Regions from separate parts of the Homo sapiens genome. Here region 2 is linked to region 1. The links are contacts of gene promoters, found by promoter capture Hi-C in human tissues and cell types (Jung and others, 2019). All regions are on one chromosome and are shown on one strand. The core of a region is centred on a gene start or on the middle of the fragment in contact, and the rest is flanking DNA. Distances in the headings are between cores, read along the strand shown.

Evidence for each region. The method cuts DNA at HindIII sites, captures the fragments that hold promoters and counts their contacts. A contact is called where the count stands out against the background at its distance.
Region 2: a contact is called between a fragment that was not itself captured here and the fragment with the promoter of MGAT5B in region 1, in 2 of the 25 tissues and cell types used here (pancreas and psoas muscle).

What each region holds. Positions count from the first base shown.
Region 1 is chr17:76,866,442-76,869,742 of GRCh38, reverse strand. It overlaps MGAT5B (alpha-1,6-mannosylglycoprotein 6-beta-N-acetylglucosaminyltransferase B), which reads right to left and starts at 1,339. Exons shown (of 18, transcript NM_001199172.2): 1 at 646-1,339. The coding sequence starts at 713. RefSeq lists a silencer at 1,195-1,504 and an enhancer at 1,842-2,136. The HindIII fragment of the contact is 29,656 bases long and covers 1-3,301 here.
Region 2 is chr17:76,825,763-76,829,509 of GRCh38, reverse strand. The region is part of intron 1 of LOC107985089 (a long non-coding RNA gene); the gene reads right to left. Among named protein-coding and RNA genes, the nearest start is that of LINC00868, 29 kb to the left of the region's middle. RefSeq lists an enhancer at 2,760-3,576. The HindIII fragment of the contact is 4,604 bases long and covers 95-3,747 here.

The DNA of each region.
Region 1 (3,301 bases), core at 90-2,589:
AGCCGCCCCGTAGCCCTGCAGCGCCGCCCCTGCCCCCGCCTCTCCGACGCCTGCGATCGGGGGCGAATCCTGGGATGAGCGAGTCCTCGCTCTAATCTCGGGACCCTCTCGTCGGAGCCAGGCCCGAGCCCCGCGGGGAGGAGAGCAGTGCCACCAAAGGCTGGGGAGAGGGTGGCACAGGCGGAGGGGTTGGGGGGTAGCCGACCTAGGGGCAGACGGGCGGGACGGGAGGGACCGGAGGGGGAGCTCCAAGGCGCCGCACACTAACTTTGCCACCCGGATGGGACCGTCCGCGGGGTGAGGAAGGACCCTGAGGGGCTGGGAAGGGGCGCGCAGGCTGGGGCAACTTTCTGGGCCCAGGACCACGACCTGGGGGTTTTCTGCCCCCATTCTTACCTCTGCACCCCGAGTCCTCTCCAACCCTGCCCAACTCGGGACAGGTCCCCGAATAACACAACCCTCCCCATCCGCACCCCGAACCCCAACGCCATCCGTTCCCCCAGCCCAGCCCCACTGGTCATCACCAGGGGTTGAAGTGTGAACCGCCCCCTCTGCCACCAGGACTTGAACGTTCGCAGGAACCGACCTCGCCCACCTCCACCCGGCGCCCCCCTGGGGAAAAAACCAACCAGGAGGGAACTTTACCGAAAGGGTCTCAGGGTGACCAGGCATCTTCTGACCATTATCTTCCCATCGGGGTTGACGGTGATCATTGTTCAAACTTGTTGGTGCGAGCAGCCGCGGGCGAGGCCGGACGCACCGTCCTGGGCCCAGCTCTCGCCGCGTCCGGGCCACGAACCCTCTGCGGGCCGAAGCCGCGTCCGAGCGAAGCTGGGAGCGCGCGGCCCGGTGGCCTCGCTGCTCAGGCCTGGGCGTGCAGCGGAGGGAGCGGCGCGGCTGCCGGAGGGCGGCGAGGGCGCCCGGCCGGGCCGTCTCTGCGTCTCCGCCCTCCCCGCTTCACATTTTGGGGACCGGGAGGCGGCGCGCCCCCAGACCGCCGGCCGCGCGTCTGCCTGCTCGGGCTCGCTCGCTGGGCGGGAAGGTGCCGCGGCGCGCAGACGGGCTCCCCGCGGCGGGCGCCCTCATCCCCGGCCCCGCGCCCTCGGTGCCGGCTAAAGGCGGCCCCGGGCCCGCGCCCCGGTCCCCAGCGCCTCCGGGCCGCGCCGATCCTCAGCCCCGCGCCGCGCCGCGCCCATGGCTCTCGACGAGGGCAACCCGCGCCCGCCGCGCGCTCTCTCGCCCGCTGGCTCCGCCGCCCGCGCTCTGGTGTCCGGCGTCCGGCCCCGCGCGACGCTACGCCCGGAGGCGCCGCATTGTTCCTCGGAGGAGGCGGCCGAGCGGCGCTGGGGCGGCCCGGGAGCTGCAGCTGCGCTTCCAAGGCGCGCCGGCGCCACCTCGTGGCCGCAGCCCCGCTGTGCGCCCTGCCCGGGGCCGTGCGGGGCTGGGACGCCGAGGACCAGCTTCGAGGACGGGCGGGCGGGGGTCCCTGCTCCTTCCCCTGAGCCAAGCAGCTTCCCAGGGCGCCACCAGCCCCGAGGGCCGAAAGCTGCTTTGGCTCCCGCAGAGCACAGAAGAGATGCGCACCCAGCGGAGACCCTTCTCTTCTGCCAGGTGCCTCCGTGGGCTTCCTCATCAGCCGCTTCCCACGATTTCGCTTGGCAACACATGCCTATCTTCTGCCCCTCCCTGGTCAGAAACTCCCGTGGCTCCTCTTTGCTTACTGATCTGAGTATAAACTCGGCCTGTGGTGCTGGGGCCCGCTCACAGAGCCAGGCGCAGGGGCGTACTGAGTTGTAGCCCCAGATCCTCCACTAGCCAGTGGGCGATCAAGTGTGCACGTCTCAGAGTCTCCATTATGAAATGATAGTGACCAGAAGCTCACCAAGGTCCCTTGCAACCCTAAAGCATGTAGGATCTCATGTCGTCTCTTAGCATCTAGGCGTCCTCCCCTCCCCCTCCTCGTACTTCCTGGCTCTGGAGATGTGTTTGCAGTTGCAGAGACAGAGACTCCTGGGAGCTCGCAGAGCCAGCCTGAAGAAAGCTCTCCGGCTTCAAAAGCACTTCCCGAGGTCATATCTGACCACCCCACCCTGGGAAGTGCCCAAAGCCTCAGTCATGTGTCAAATGACTCTGAGGGTCTTCCCAGCTCAGGCCACGATGCTGCAGCCTGGCTTATGCGAGGAGGAGACTTTATTTTCCTCCAGCTGGGCCTGGTCCCCTCCAATCCCCCATACCCAGGCCCCTTGCTGCCTGCCCTGCCCACCTCCCGGCCCCCTTCCTGGGCCATTACTCACTGGCCATGACTCACGCTCTCTGCTTTGCTGCTCCTTCTTCATCAAAATTTACCGGTGCTGAGTTCCATTATCTCACTGCCTTGCTCTCTGCTAATGTGAAAATGGGTGATAAATTGGTGTTAGCAGATATAATGTGTTACACAGGCTAGGTAACAAATTTGCATTGAACAAGGACATGCTGACCGTGCCTTTGTGCAGAAGAGTGATGAATGGTGGCCGGAAATTTGGGCATCGTGGCAGGCTGGCTAAGGAGATGTTGGAGGGCAGAGGTCTCTGCCAGGCCTGTAAATCACATCTCATGCCTGGGTGCCTACATCTGCCACAAATCCTGGCAATAAGCCATATCTACACTAAGGAATGAAATGGTCCTTCTGATTAGGTGTCTCTCTTCTGATTGGGGGTTCTTCTGATTGAGTAGGCTTAGGGGGTGGCATTTATATCTGGTTGCCATTTTAGGCCAAAGGGGAAGCCTCTTCCTCAGTGGTGGAGATGGGGTTCCCTAGAAGGCATGGCCACCTCTGGTGTGGGTCATCTGGGGAGGTGGCCTACCCTCCACAGAAGCCAGAATTTAGAAGGTAGGGGAAGGTACTCCCCTCTTCCCCTGGGCCACACACCCTTAGATCTGGACTTTGAAGTTGGAGCGGGAAAGCCTCTCTGCCATTTGACGGCTGGCTTGGGCCAGGGAGGGAAGCAAGCAGAGGACAGCCAGTGACTTTTTTTTTTTTTTTTTTTTTTTTTTGAGATGGAGTCTCGCTCTGTTTCCCAGGCTGGAGTACAGTGGCGCAATCTCGGCTCACTGCAAACTCCGCCTTTTGGGTTCAAGAGATTCTTCTGCCTCAGCCTCTTGAGTAGCTGGGATTACAGGCACGTGCCACGATACCTGTAATAAATGCCTATAAAAATGCAAAATTTTTGTATTTTTAGTAGAGACAGGTTTCGCCATGTTGGCCAGGCTGCTCTCAAACTCCTGACCTCAAGTGATCCGCTTGCCTCGGCCTCCCAAAGTG
Region 2 (3,747 bases), core at 1,147-3,646, 41 kb after region 1:
GTGATCCACCTGCCTCGGCCTCCCAAAGTGCTGAGATTACAGGCGTGAGCCACCACGCCTGGCCTTTTTTGTTTTCAGACAGGGTCTTGCTCTATTTACCAGGCTGGAGTGCAGCAGGTCAAACACAGCTCACTATAGCCATGACGTCCTGGGCTCAAGTGATCCTCCTGCCTCAGTCTCCTGTGTAGCTGGGGCCACAGGTGCACACCACCACACCCCAGCTATTATTGTCATTTTCATATATAAACTTTCCAAATTCTTCCAAAGTCAAAGCAATCCACTAACCCTGAGGCAGGAGGAAGTGGGGCAGGAGAGGCAGACAGCTTTTGTTTTCAGATTTCTTTCTTCTTTTTTGAGTCAAGGTCTTGCTCTATCACTCAGGCTGGAGTGCAGTGGCACAATCACAGCTCACTGCAGCCTCAACCTCCTGAGCTCAAACGATCCTCCCACCTCAGCCTCCCAAGTAGCTGGGACTACAGGCATGTGCCACCATGCCTGGCTATTTTTTTTTTTTTTTTTTTTTTTGGGAGAGACAGAGTCTCACTATGTTGCTCAGGCTGGTCTTGAACTCATGGCCTCAAGTGATCCTCCCTTCTCAGGCTCCCAAACTGCTGGGAATACAGGTGTGAGCAACCATGCCCAGCCTGTTTTCAGGTTTCTGAAGCTAAGAAGCTCAGTTTGTCTGACTTACCTACGATGACTCTCTCTCCCTCTTCTACATAAAAAACAGCCTATTTCGGAGAAAATTTAGTGCCAGCCAAAGGGGTATCTACCTTGCTTACTGTGGGACATTACTTCTATTCCAATTCAAGCTTTTAAGAATAATTTTTATTTTAATATCTTGAACGTATGAGAAGAATCCATCCATAAAATAGACTGCTCGATATTTCATTACACTCAGATCCCAGCCGAAGTACCCTGCTGGCTGCCTGCCTTCCCTCGGCCAGGAGGGTGCAGGTGTCCCCATGGAGAGAGGCAGCCTGGACTCCTTGGCTCTGCCCAGATCCAATGCCAATACCCTGTGCCAGGCCCCGCTAGCTTCAAAGATTCCCTCCACACCCCTGACATGTCCTACTGACTCATCCTCTTGCTGCAGGATACACATAAGCATCCATCTTCCTGAAAGTCATTTATTAAAAGAGAGTCTATCTTAGAAAGAGCTCTAGGCTGGGCACGGTGGCTCACGCCTGTAATCCCAGCACTTTGAGAGGCCAACGTGGGTGGATCACGAGGTCAGGAGTTCGAGATCAGCCTGGTCAAGATGGTGAAACCCCATCTCTACTAAAAATACAAAAATTAGCCAGGTGCAGTGGCAGGTGCCTGTAATCCCAGCTATTCGGGAGGCTGAGGCAGGAGAATCGCTTGAACCCAGGAGGCAGAGGTTGCAATGAGCCGAGATCGCACCACTGCACTCTAGCCTGGGCGACAGAGCAAGACTCCGTCTCAGAAAAAAAAAAAAGAAAGAAAAGAAAGAGCTCTAGTGCCCCAGGAAAGGCCTGCTGGGGTGCATGCTCAGGTATGTGTAACTGAGCTCGCCTTGGCTAAACTCCAGTCGCAGAGGCAGCTTGGAAATTGGCCCAAGGGGAAGGGAGAGTGAGTAAGAAGACACTGGGGCCGGAGCAGGGTGGACCTGTGGCCTGGAAAGAGAAACGGGATGAGCACGGCATGGCACGGCACGGCACGGCACGGCAAAGGGCCCATGCAGATGAGGCGTCTCCAGTCAAGGTGGCCCAAGAGAAAAATTATCTGTGGGGACTGATCAAGAACCACCCACGTTGGGAGGCTGAGGTGGGCAGATTGCTTGAGCTCAGGAGTTCAAGACCAGCCTGGGCAACATGGTGAAACCTCATCTGTACTAAAAGTTGTTAAAATTAGCTGGGCATGGTGGCACGCACCTGTGGTCTCAGCTACTGGGGAGGCTGAGGTGAGAGGATCACCTGAGCCCGGGGAGGTCAAGGTTGCAGTGAGCCAAGATCATGCCACTGTACTCCAGCCTGGGCAACAGAGTGAGATCCTATCTCAAAAAAATAAAAATAAAAAGAGCCACCACGTGGGGAAGGGACAGCCAACCTCATCTGAAGAACCAGTGTCAGGACTGAGGGGTCATCCAGAAGGCTCAGACCAGCACCCTCAGCCCTTCCCACTAGCACAAGGGACCAAAGGTGGATGGGATCATTGGCCAAGAGCTTGGTCAGCCCCGTTCCAGTGGCACCCTCATACACAGCACACAGAGGCACCCACAAATACCCACACAAGGGCCAGGCGGGCATGGAACACACACTCTGACACTCCACAGTCAGATACAAGAACAGCCCACAAGCACCACTGGGACACCTAGGGGCCCCTTGCTCAGCCCAGACCTGCCATCAGGCATGGAGAGGCCACTGCCCCGACCAGAGGCAGGATGGAAACCGAGTCTCCTGAGGCCTCCCTGCGGAGTGCAGGCCCTCGTCAGTGGAAAAAAGGAAGGAAGAGGAGGCTCCTACTTCTCTGCAGGAGAACTTTCTAGAGGGTTATTCCGCTGGCCTCTCCCGTGCAGGGCATTTCCAATTCTCTGTGACTTCCGGATATGCAAGGATTCAAAGCCACAGAACTGATCAGCTTCACCGCACCCCCTACATGCACGCCCCAGCCCCGGGAGCGTGCCTTCCACTTCCGGTGCTCCACCAGAGGAGAGGCCACAGCACTCCTGTAACAAGACGCCACAGTGATGGTTCCATCTCCTGGAAGCTGGTGAATAATTCAGGAGAAATACTTACTCCCGTTTTAATTAATCCACATGCAATTTCAGCAGCAGAAATGCACCATCACTCCGGCCAGGAAGCAGCAGGTACAGGCATCTTATTACTCGGCATTTGATAGCCCGGCTCTCACTTGGTTGTTAACAGCCTTCACAAGAAGAAACCTCAATCTGCACCGAAATGATGAGACCGGTGCAGAGGGAGACATCCCGGAGCCTGGACGCCTTCAGGCCTCGTTTCCTCCCCAGCCCATCCTCAGCGCAGAGTGGGGGAGAGAAGTCCTGCTTGCCTCATGTTGGACAGCAGCCGCCCTTGCATGTGGAAGTTACACACACTCACTCACAGGGACCAGCGCAGGGAGAAACAGAATTGGCTACCTCCACCTCAATGCTCCCCTTCCGCTCACGGGCACCTGCCACTGCTCTGTCCAGTCCTGCCCTCCACGGTGCCTTGAGGGCCTGTGTGGTACAGCCGAGTACACCAGGACCCAGCGAAGAGGTGCCTCCCTCAACACTGTCACATAGCTACGAAGGGGTCAAACTGAGACCCCAGGTCTGTTCACTGCTGGTGCTCGACCCCCAGTGGGTCCATGGATGCTAAACTGGGGAGGGTCATGAGGCTGAGGGAGGGAATCCCTCCGCCAACTCCCACTACACAAAACACAGGAAAGAGACAGAGGATGCCGAGTCCAGGAAGAGAGACTCCATGTACCTACCAGGGGGCTGTGGGTGCCCCTGGGAAAGCAGGCTGCCTGGCAGATGGCACAGAGTAAAGAGGACAGGGCCCACGGTGGTGACACAAGGAATGTGAATGGCTTTGATAGGCAGTCTGGGAGCTAAGGAAAATTGGATGAATGGAGTTCAAGGGGTCATGGTCTTAAGAAAAATGGTCTTTTGGCTGGGTGTGGTGGCTCATGCCTATAATCCCAGCACTTTGGGAAGCCGAGGTGGGCGGATCACTTGAGTTCAGGAGTTCGAGACCAGCCTGGCCAACATGGCAAAACCCC